Regions from separate parts of the Homo sapiens genome. Here region 1 is linked to region 2. Evidence: promoter capture Hi-C in 16 types of primary human blood cells and fetal thymus (Javierre and others, 2016). All regions are on one chromosome and are shown on one strand. Each heading gives the region's core, a stretch centred on a gene start or on the middle of the fragment in contact. The rest is flanking DNA. Distances are from core to core; before and after follow the strand shown. Region 1 overlaps AHDC1 (AT-hook DNA binding motif containing 1). Region 2 holds the start of SYTL1 (synaptotagmin like 1).

Region 1 (4,028 bases), core at 567-3,066, 220 kb after region 2:
AGAATCACACATGCCACTCCCCACAACAGCCTGCGACGGGCACATGGTGACATCTCACACACACAACAGCCAGAGACAGGCGCACAAGTTGGTGACAACCCTCCTAACGGGATGAACTAAGCACATAACCTGTCGCTTCCTCCAAACATGAGATGGGCACACCTGACACACCCTCGACAGCATGGGGCAGGCGTCTGTTACCCCTCACAGTGGCATAACTGACACGCAACCAGGCACCCCCACACCCACTAATGCACAGAGAACCTGTTACACAGCTGACCAAGACACACACACACGCACGCACGCATGCATGCACACACCCACACAAAGAACCTGTCACATAGTTGACCAAGACACACACACATGCACACACACACAGAACCTGTCACACAGCTGACCAAGACACACACACACGCACGCATGCATGCACACACCCACACAAAGAACCTGTCACATAGTTGACCAAGACACACACACATGCACACACACACAGAACCTGTCACACAGCTGACCAAGACACACACACACACACACACACACGTGGGACAAGTCCCATCTTCCAGGTGTGAGGAAGGCATGGACCCCTCCACCCACCACACAGCATGAGGCAGGGACATAACCTCGCCCCTGCCTGGGAATCCTCCCTGCAGACTGTGGGATGGGTACACAACATGTCACCTCCCCGGCTGCCTTGGACAGGTGACAGCCCACCTCACCCCTCCCCCATCACTGTCACCAGCCTGGGTGGTGCCGTCCCTCTGCCTGCAGAGGCGTCACAGCTCACACGGCATGAATGTCACCCCAGCACTGCCAGAGCCGGGCACAGCCACACATTGCCCCAGTGACAAACACCACTGGCCCCAGAGGAGGTGAAGGCACACAGGGCTCTGGTGTGACCTTGGCCTCTGGACACCAGGAGGGGAGGTGCTGTGGCTTCCCGCCCAGTGGCGGGTGCTGGGGGAGAGGAGTGCTGGGGAGGAAGCTGCCTGGACACACTGACTACCTGGAAATGCCACCTCCCCCAGCCCTCACTCCACTCCATTTCTTATTCACTGTAGTTGTGTATCTAGGGAGGGGGCTGAATGAGTGGTGGAGGGAGGGCTGTCCTGAGGCGCTGTTACTATGAGACTGCTTAGAGATCAGTGGGGAGTAGGGCGGTTAGGGGTTGCTATCACCATGTGCTCAGTGGGAAGAGTATGGGATAATGGCTTGAGACCCCCATAGCTTCCAGGGGAGCCCTTCTTCCTTACAAAGGCCCCCTCTCCAAACTTCAGGCCACAGAGCTGGGGACAAGGAGGCCAAAGTCCAGGAACATGACTCACCCAGGGAACAGGCCCAGCCTGCTGGCCATAGTGGTGAGGGAGGCCAAGAGCCAAGAGGCCTGGGTTCCAGTCTGAGCTCCTCCAGGGCCAAGCTGGGTGACCTTGGAGCAGCAGCTCAGCCTCTTTGGCTTCGGGGAGGGGGGAAGGGGCCGCAGTGAGAGAAGTGCCAGGGTCAGAAAGAAGAAGCTGAAGCTGGAGACCAGCAGGCAGAACTTCAGGCCACAGAGGGCTCCAGCCCGCCTCCCCTGCTCCCCTGCTTCCTCACAAGGAACCTCATCTTCCTCATCTGTACAAAAGGGACAAGAGTGCCAGCCTCATGAGACAAGGTAGCATAAAGTGGGCCGCTCCTCAAGAAATGGGAAGCTTCTGATTGAAGAGAGGGAGAAATAGACTAAGAGACTTGCCCAAGCCACAGAGCAAATTAGGATCAGCTGAACTCAGCCTCCATCTCCTGGCTCCCCACCTGGAGCTGTTTCTTTAAGACTGCTTGGAGGTCAAGTGTGGAGGGGGACAGGGGAGATGTTGGGGTGTTGTTGGATGCAGTGCCTCCCTGCCGCCCGATGAAGACCAATGAATCTGATAGGAGTCCACCATGCCCTACCTTTACCCTAAACCCCACTTGGCCCAAAGCTTGGACAAGAGGAGTGGCTCTAAGGGGAGGGAGGCACCCCACCTCCCACCCCATCATGACCAGCAGCAGCACCTGGTGCTTGGAAGGACTAGAGGACCTGAGATGTCAGTGTCTAGGGCCCCTCGTTTTACAGGAGCCCAGAGAGGGAAAGGCCTAGCCTGAGGTCACACAGCACGACAGCACAAGAGCCTAGAGTCCTGGCCACGGACAGCCTCAGAGCAGAGTCCCCCTAGCCCCTGGGGGTGGCTGGAGCTGGGGGGCCCTGGGGGACTGAGTAAAGCGTGGCGACAGATGGCCTGCCGAGGCAGCGGCGATCTGGGCGGCTGGCAGGCATGCTCGCTCCCGCGCAGGGAAGCGGCTAATTTTAGCTGAGGCCTCGATGCCAGCTTTGTTCCCCCCACCCACCCGCCGAGGGGGCCCAGCATGCCTTGCGTGCAACCTGCCTCCCCCAGGCACCCCTACTCCCCCGCCTGGCCCCTTGGTGAGTAGTGCCCAGACCCCAGGATCCTAGAACGGTCTGCCTGACCAGGCCTCACCACACCCAGAGGTGAGGCCTGACTCCCCTACCCCAGGGCCTGTTTGCCCACGACTCCAAGCTCATTCCATGAAGAGGGGCGAGAGAGGAAGGACAGAGGCCACTGCCCAGACTGGGAGGGCGGGCCAGACAGCAGGGGCTGCCAGTCTTGAAGGGAGGCGAGGCACTGTCCTCCACCCAACCCTTAAGGAGACAGGACCCTGATTCCACCCATGCCCTGGACAAACATTCTGTCTGGTGTCCCCCGGCGCTGGTGAGCAAGGGGCGGGAGTCACTCTAGTCTTTCCTTGTTCCTCATAACTTTGAGTTTGTTCCAGGAACTCAAAGCACTTTAAAGAAGTCAGACATGAAGCAAGGATAGTATCCCTATACCATCTGGGGAAACTGAGGCACAGTCTGAACTTGCCATCATTTTAGCAAGGGAAGGGACAAATCCCAAGAATCAGTGAGGCCTGTTCTCTAGAGAGCTTCTTGGGCCAGTTTAGCTCCTGGAACTATCTTCTGTTCCTACCCTGGGCTAGTGGAAGGTAGACTAGATGGATGGAGCCCATCCCCTAAAACCCTGGAAAGGCAGACTCACACTCTTGTTTCCTGGTGCCACACTCTCTGTAGGCTCTTCAACCTTGCACCCTCCATTTCAGGTTCAACCACATAAGCCCAGTGGGGCTTCCAGGACATCTGGCCCCTACTAAAAAGAGGGATCCTTTGGGGTGACTCTGGAGCCCTGCCCCCTGCACCAGCTCCCCAATCTTCATAGGCCTGGGAAGGAAACAACCTGGTAGGAAATAGAGTAAGGAGAACTGAAAGGCCCAGCTCTGAAAGAAAGATATGTATTTAGAAGGACAAAGTCAGAAGAAAGACAGGGGGCGGGAGAAATCAAGGCAGAGATTCAGATCCAGGAAGAGAGACAGAAAGATGAAGGACACTGAGGCAAGAGAAACAGGGCAGAAAGAGGCAGAAGGAGAAAAAGATCTGGAGGGAGGGGGCGAGAGCCAGAGAGGGAGAGAGAGGGCGACCATGCCAGAGGAAGGAAAACAGCAAGAAAGAGACTCAGGAAGAGAGAGAGACAAGGAGAAAGAAAAAGACAAAAGAGAGAGACAGGCAGGATGATGCAGAGACAAAGACACACGCACAGGGGGGAAGAGATGGAGAAGGAACCTGAGGAGTCTGCACAGACAGGCGGAGGCACAGAGCACCAGCGACCCGGGAGCTGGAGACAGACAGAGGGACTGACACACCCAGAGCCCCACAGCGACAGTCGGAGGGTGAGACACACTCAGATGGGGTGGGAAGAGGGGGTGACACTACTAAGTGTTAGAGTGTGGGGGGAACAGCAGTAGGCAGAGGTGAGGAGGGAGGGGGGTGGAGGAGGAGGAGGAGGAGGGATGTCATTGCCAGAACTGGGGGGGGACAGAGGACAGAAATGGAATGTGGGTCTGGGCATGAGGCTCACAGATGCATCGGCTCTGGTTTCAGCTGGGGCAGTTGGCTGCTAGGGTGGGGGGAAGAAGGAGCAGAGCTGTCGAGGGAGGGGGGCCTG
Region 2 (4,324 bases), core at 1,825-4,324:
ACCATGCGGCAGAGCCAGATTTTAACCCAGATCTGCTGGCCTCTAGGACCCTGCCTCTTAATGTCCCTCTTAACAGAGGGATGTTGCCTAGAGACTGGCTGCAGCGCAGGGGCACTGAACTCTGGAGGAGGCTGAGCTAGTCCTGGAGCTGGGGAAAAGTATTCCCACAGGGAGCACAGAAGGCCCAGGGGTGTTGAAGGACAGGAAATAGCCCACAGCTAAGGCTCTACGGGTATAGGTGACGAAGGGGAGAAAGCCAGAGTAAGGGCAGCAATCCTGAGGGTCAGGCTGAGGGCCAGGCTGTCCTGGGAAGTGGTGAGACTTCCATCTCAGGACGTGTCTAAAGGGGACTGGACTGGTTTAGAAATGTATGAATGGGCCCGAGGGATGGCCTGGCTGTCTGCTGGCACCTTCCAAACCAGAGGATGACAAAGAAAAGTACGTTTGAAAGTTGTGCAACATAGGGCCAGAGTGGCCTTGTGTGGCCGCAAGGAGGCAGGAGAAGAGGAGGCTTCCAGAAGAGGCTGAGCGGGGACTGAGACCTGGGCAGGGGGAGGACAGCAGAGACACACAGATGGGAGGGCACCTGGAGTGAAGTGTGGACAGCATCTGGAGGTGGCAGGAAGCAGCAGGAGGCCAGGGGCCAGGATGATGGGGGCTGGTTACAGAGGTGGAAACTTGGAAATAGGTTTCAAGTGGGGAAGAGGCCAGAGGAATGCAGGTTGAGACACAGCAGGAGAGATGGCTGGAAGTATCAGCGTCAGGGAGTCACAGCTATAGGAAGGACAGGAGAGCAGAGAAAGGAAGGGAAATTTAGAAACCCGAAGACCAGATAATGAAGTTTCATGCCTTCCAGGAGGAAGAGCTGCTAAGGAGGTGAGAGGAGGGCAGAGAAACATCCTTGGGGGCGCCAGGACCAGGATGGCAGGAAGGGGTGTGGATGTTCTTGGCCACTCTCCTTCCATTTTGAGGGCCTTAATGAAGGAGGCAGCATCACAGTAATGGTCCCACAGCAGCTGCTCCATGGGTATTGCATGTGTGGGTGCATAAATGCATTAATCAAGAGTACTGGGGTCTGGGCAAGGTGGCTCACGCCTGTAGTCCTAGCACTTTGGGAGGCTGAGGCAGGCAGATCACATGAGACCAGGAGTTCGAGCCCAGCCTGTCCAACATGGTGAAACCCCATCTCTACTCAAAATACAAAAATTAGCCAGGCGTGGTGGCGGGCGCCTGTAGTGCCAGCTACTCGGGAGGCTGAGGCATGAGAATCACTTGAACCCAGGAGGCGGAGGCTGCAGTGAGCCAAGCCAGCCTGGGCGACAGAGCAAGACTCCATCTAAAAAAAAGAAAAAAAAAAGTCTGCAAGGATCTCACTGAATTTTAGTGAAAACCCTCTAAGGAGAGATTACCCCCATTTAACAGATGAGAAAAATAAGATTAATTTGCAAAAAATAAGTAGGGAAGCCTCCACTGTGGTTCTGAGGTGGAGGAGGGTCCTCTGTCTCTCAGTGGTGGTGGGAGTCGGTTCTGATTACAGGAAGGAAGAGTGGGTGTTTAGTTTTCTTTTCTTTTCTTTTCTTTTTTTTTTTGTGACGGAGTCTCGCTCTGTCGCCCAGGCTGGAGTGCAGTGGTGCGATCTCGGCTCACTGCAAGCTCCACCTCCCAGGTTCATGCCATTCTCCTGCCTCAGCTACTCGGGAAATAGCTGGGACTACAGGCAGCCGCCACCACGCCCAGCTAATTTTTTTTGTATTTTTAGTAGAGATGGGTTTTCACCGTGTTAGCCAGGATGGTCTTGATCTCCTGACCTCGTGATCCACCCGTCTCGGCCTCCCAAAGTGCTGGGATTACAGGTGTAAGCTACCACGCCCAGCCTTGTTTGCTTTTCTGAGACGGAGTCTCGCTGTGTTGCCCAGGCTGGAGTGCAGTGGTGCGATCTCGGCTCACTGCAACCTCCGCCTCCTGGGTTCAAGCGATTCTCCTGCCTCGGCCTCCCGAGTAACTGGGACTGCAAGCACCTGCCACCATGCCCGGTTAATTTTTGTATTTTGAGTAGAGACGGGGTTTCACTATATTAGCCAGACTGGTCTCAAACTCCTGTCCTAGAGTGATCCGCCCACCTCGACCTCTTAAAGTACTGGGATTACAGGCATGAGTCACTGTGCCCAGACTGGTTTTGTTTAGAATCCACCCCTTGTCCTGCCTCTCCCAGGGGTCTATGAGGAGCCCACTAATCTTTAATCCATGGCCCTAGGTTCAGGGGAGGGGGTTGGGCCAGGGCAGGCCATGGGAAGTGAAGTGGACTTGGGGGGAGTCAGAAAGCTTTGGTGTGGCCTCTTGTGCCCAAGACAACCCAGGAGGTTCATGGTCCTGAAGCCAATGTAATCTAGGGCCCAAACCTTCTAATCTCAGGGTGGGCAGAATCTAGGTGTAGAATGGGGTGAGTTCAGGGGGGCTCCACATAGACAGAGGGTGTGGGACCCTCACCTTGGCACTAGAAGAGTTCAGGCCTCCTCAAACAGATGGGGCTCAGGACAGCAGAGGGGACAGAGAGGGCTGCTCTGCCAGCATGTCCCAGAAGTGCATGTGGATATAGAGGGCAGCAGCTGCTGAGATGGCCGTGGGCATTAGGCTATGCTGGAGTGGGGACACCTCACCCCGACTATGCCAGCTCGCACCGGGCACTTTCACTTCCCTTAGTATAGGCTCCTTGCACTCTGCTACCCACAGTTTGCATCAGAAGAAATGGAAGAGACCTGCTTAAGGTCACATCACACACCCACTGGCAGAGCAGGGACTCTGCACAGGGTGGTCTAACTGCAAAGTCTGCCATCCTGCCATTCCCCTTGGGGCTGGAAAAGAAAGGTTTCTAACTTGCTTTCAAAGCGAGTTCCTATCAGCCCCGTTGTGGGCAAGGTGGGGCTGCTACCCGTTCTAGAGGGCCTGCTCAGTGGAGCTGGGGCCAAGCTGGGCCTCTCCAGTCGGCTGCGGGGGCGCACCCCCGGGCGCTGGGAGTCCAGGCCCGGTTTTGCATCAGGCCCTGCCGAGGTGTTTCCTCCTCCTCCGTGTGGGGCAGCTGCTGGCTGGGCTGCCTGTTGAGTCAGCCTTCTTCCCTCACGGCTCTTCTCCCGGTCCCTGAAACTCGGCTGCCAGGGGAGCTGGAGCCACCTGCGAAGGTGTCCTCCCATACTGGACCCCTACAGGTAACACGTGTCGGTGCCAGGGTCCCCTGCCAGGGTCCAGAGACGCAGGCACTGCCACCTGGTATCCTGAGCACCCTCCAGCACCTTGGGGTTGGGGGAGGTGGGCACATGTCTGGAACTGGAACAGCTGGACAGATGGACAGACCCTCCTCTTGACCAATGGGTCTGTCCCACCGTGTCAAAACAGCAGAGAAGACCAAACTCCTACCTAACTCTGGTAGGAGATTCTGCCTCTGGTTGGTAGGAGAGGGGACTTCAGGGAGGGGGCACTGCTGAGGACGCTGGGCTGATGCCCATGGCCCAGCTCAGGCAGGCCTGAAGGACAGAAATAGGCTCAGTTCTGCCGAACGTCCCCCCGGCCTCCATCCACACTCAGACACACACACCTGGTGGCCCCCAAGGCACCAGGGGACACCCCACAGCACACAGCCCAGTCACACATACAGCACAGGAGGAAATGCACAATGCATACTGTACACACCCCACACGGCGCTGTCACCTAGAAAGTCACTGAACACACCACACAGACAATATAGTCACCATGCAGCATCACACTGCAACAGGACACAAAGACACACAGCAACTACACAGCTCACAGACTCACGCAACGCAGACATGCCCACCAGACTCGGACCCACACAGCCACACAACAGGGCACAGAGAGGGACGTGGGCTCACACCCCAATCCACAGGGGAGGCCGAACGTGGGCTCACACCCCAATCCACAGGGGAGGCCGAACGTGGGCTCACACGTTGGCCACAGAAGTCCAGGGAAACTGCTGTTGTGGAGCACACAGGTATCCACAGAGTGAATGCACACCGTGCAGCCGTGCTGAGGCCTTCTGCTCCTGAGGGTGTCAAGAGGGATCGCTGGGGCTCGGCCACTGACTCAGCTGGGAGGGGACAGAGCATAGCAGGCGGCGGACACAAGCCAGGACCTGCCCGCCAAGCTGCCTCCGCCGGTCTCAGCCCCACCTGGAGCCGTGGCAATGGAAGGGGCGGGGAAGAGAGGAGAGGCCGCCCAGTGGGCTCAGGACACAGCCCTGACCAAGTCATGGGCCCCTTGCCACGTCTACATGCCCCTCAGCGCTGGGCAAATGCTTTCTTTCCGGAGTCACTGT

Evidence for each region. Contacts are between HindIII fragments. The CHiCAGO score rates a contact against its expected background, and 5 or more counts as called.
Region 1: a fragment that was not itself captured here is called in contact with the fragment with the promoter of SYTL1 in region 2 in 1 of 17 cell types (M1 macrophages); the score reaches 5.1 in M1 macrophages.

Annotation. Positions count from the first base shown.
Region 1 is chr1:27,562,829-27,566,856 of GRCh38, forward strand. All of the region lies in intron 3 of AHDC1 (AT-hook DNA binding motif containing 1), which reads right to left. Among named protein-coding and RNA genes, the nearest start is that of AHDC1, 39 kb to the right of the region's middle. RefSeq lists an enhancer at 46-773. The HindIII fragment of the contact is 267 bases long and covers 1,684-1,950 here.
Region 2 is chr1:27,338,948-27,343,271 of GRCh38, forward strand. SYTL1 (synaptotagmin like 1) reads left to right here and starts at 3,075. Exons shown (of 15, transcript NM_001193308.2): 1 at 3,075-3,203. RefSeq lists enhancers at 2,696-2,955, 3,486-3,535, 3,710-4,324. The HindIII fragment of the contact is 10,600 bases long and covers 2,321-4,324 here.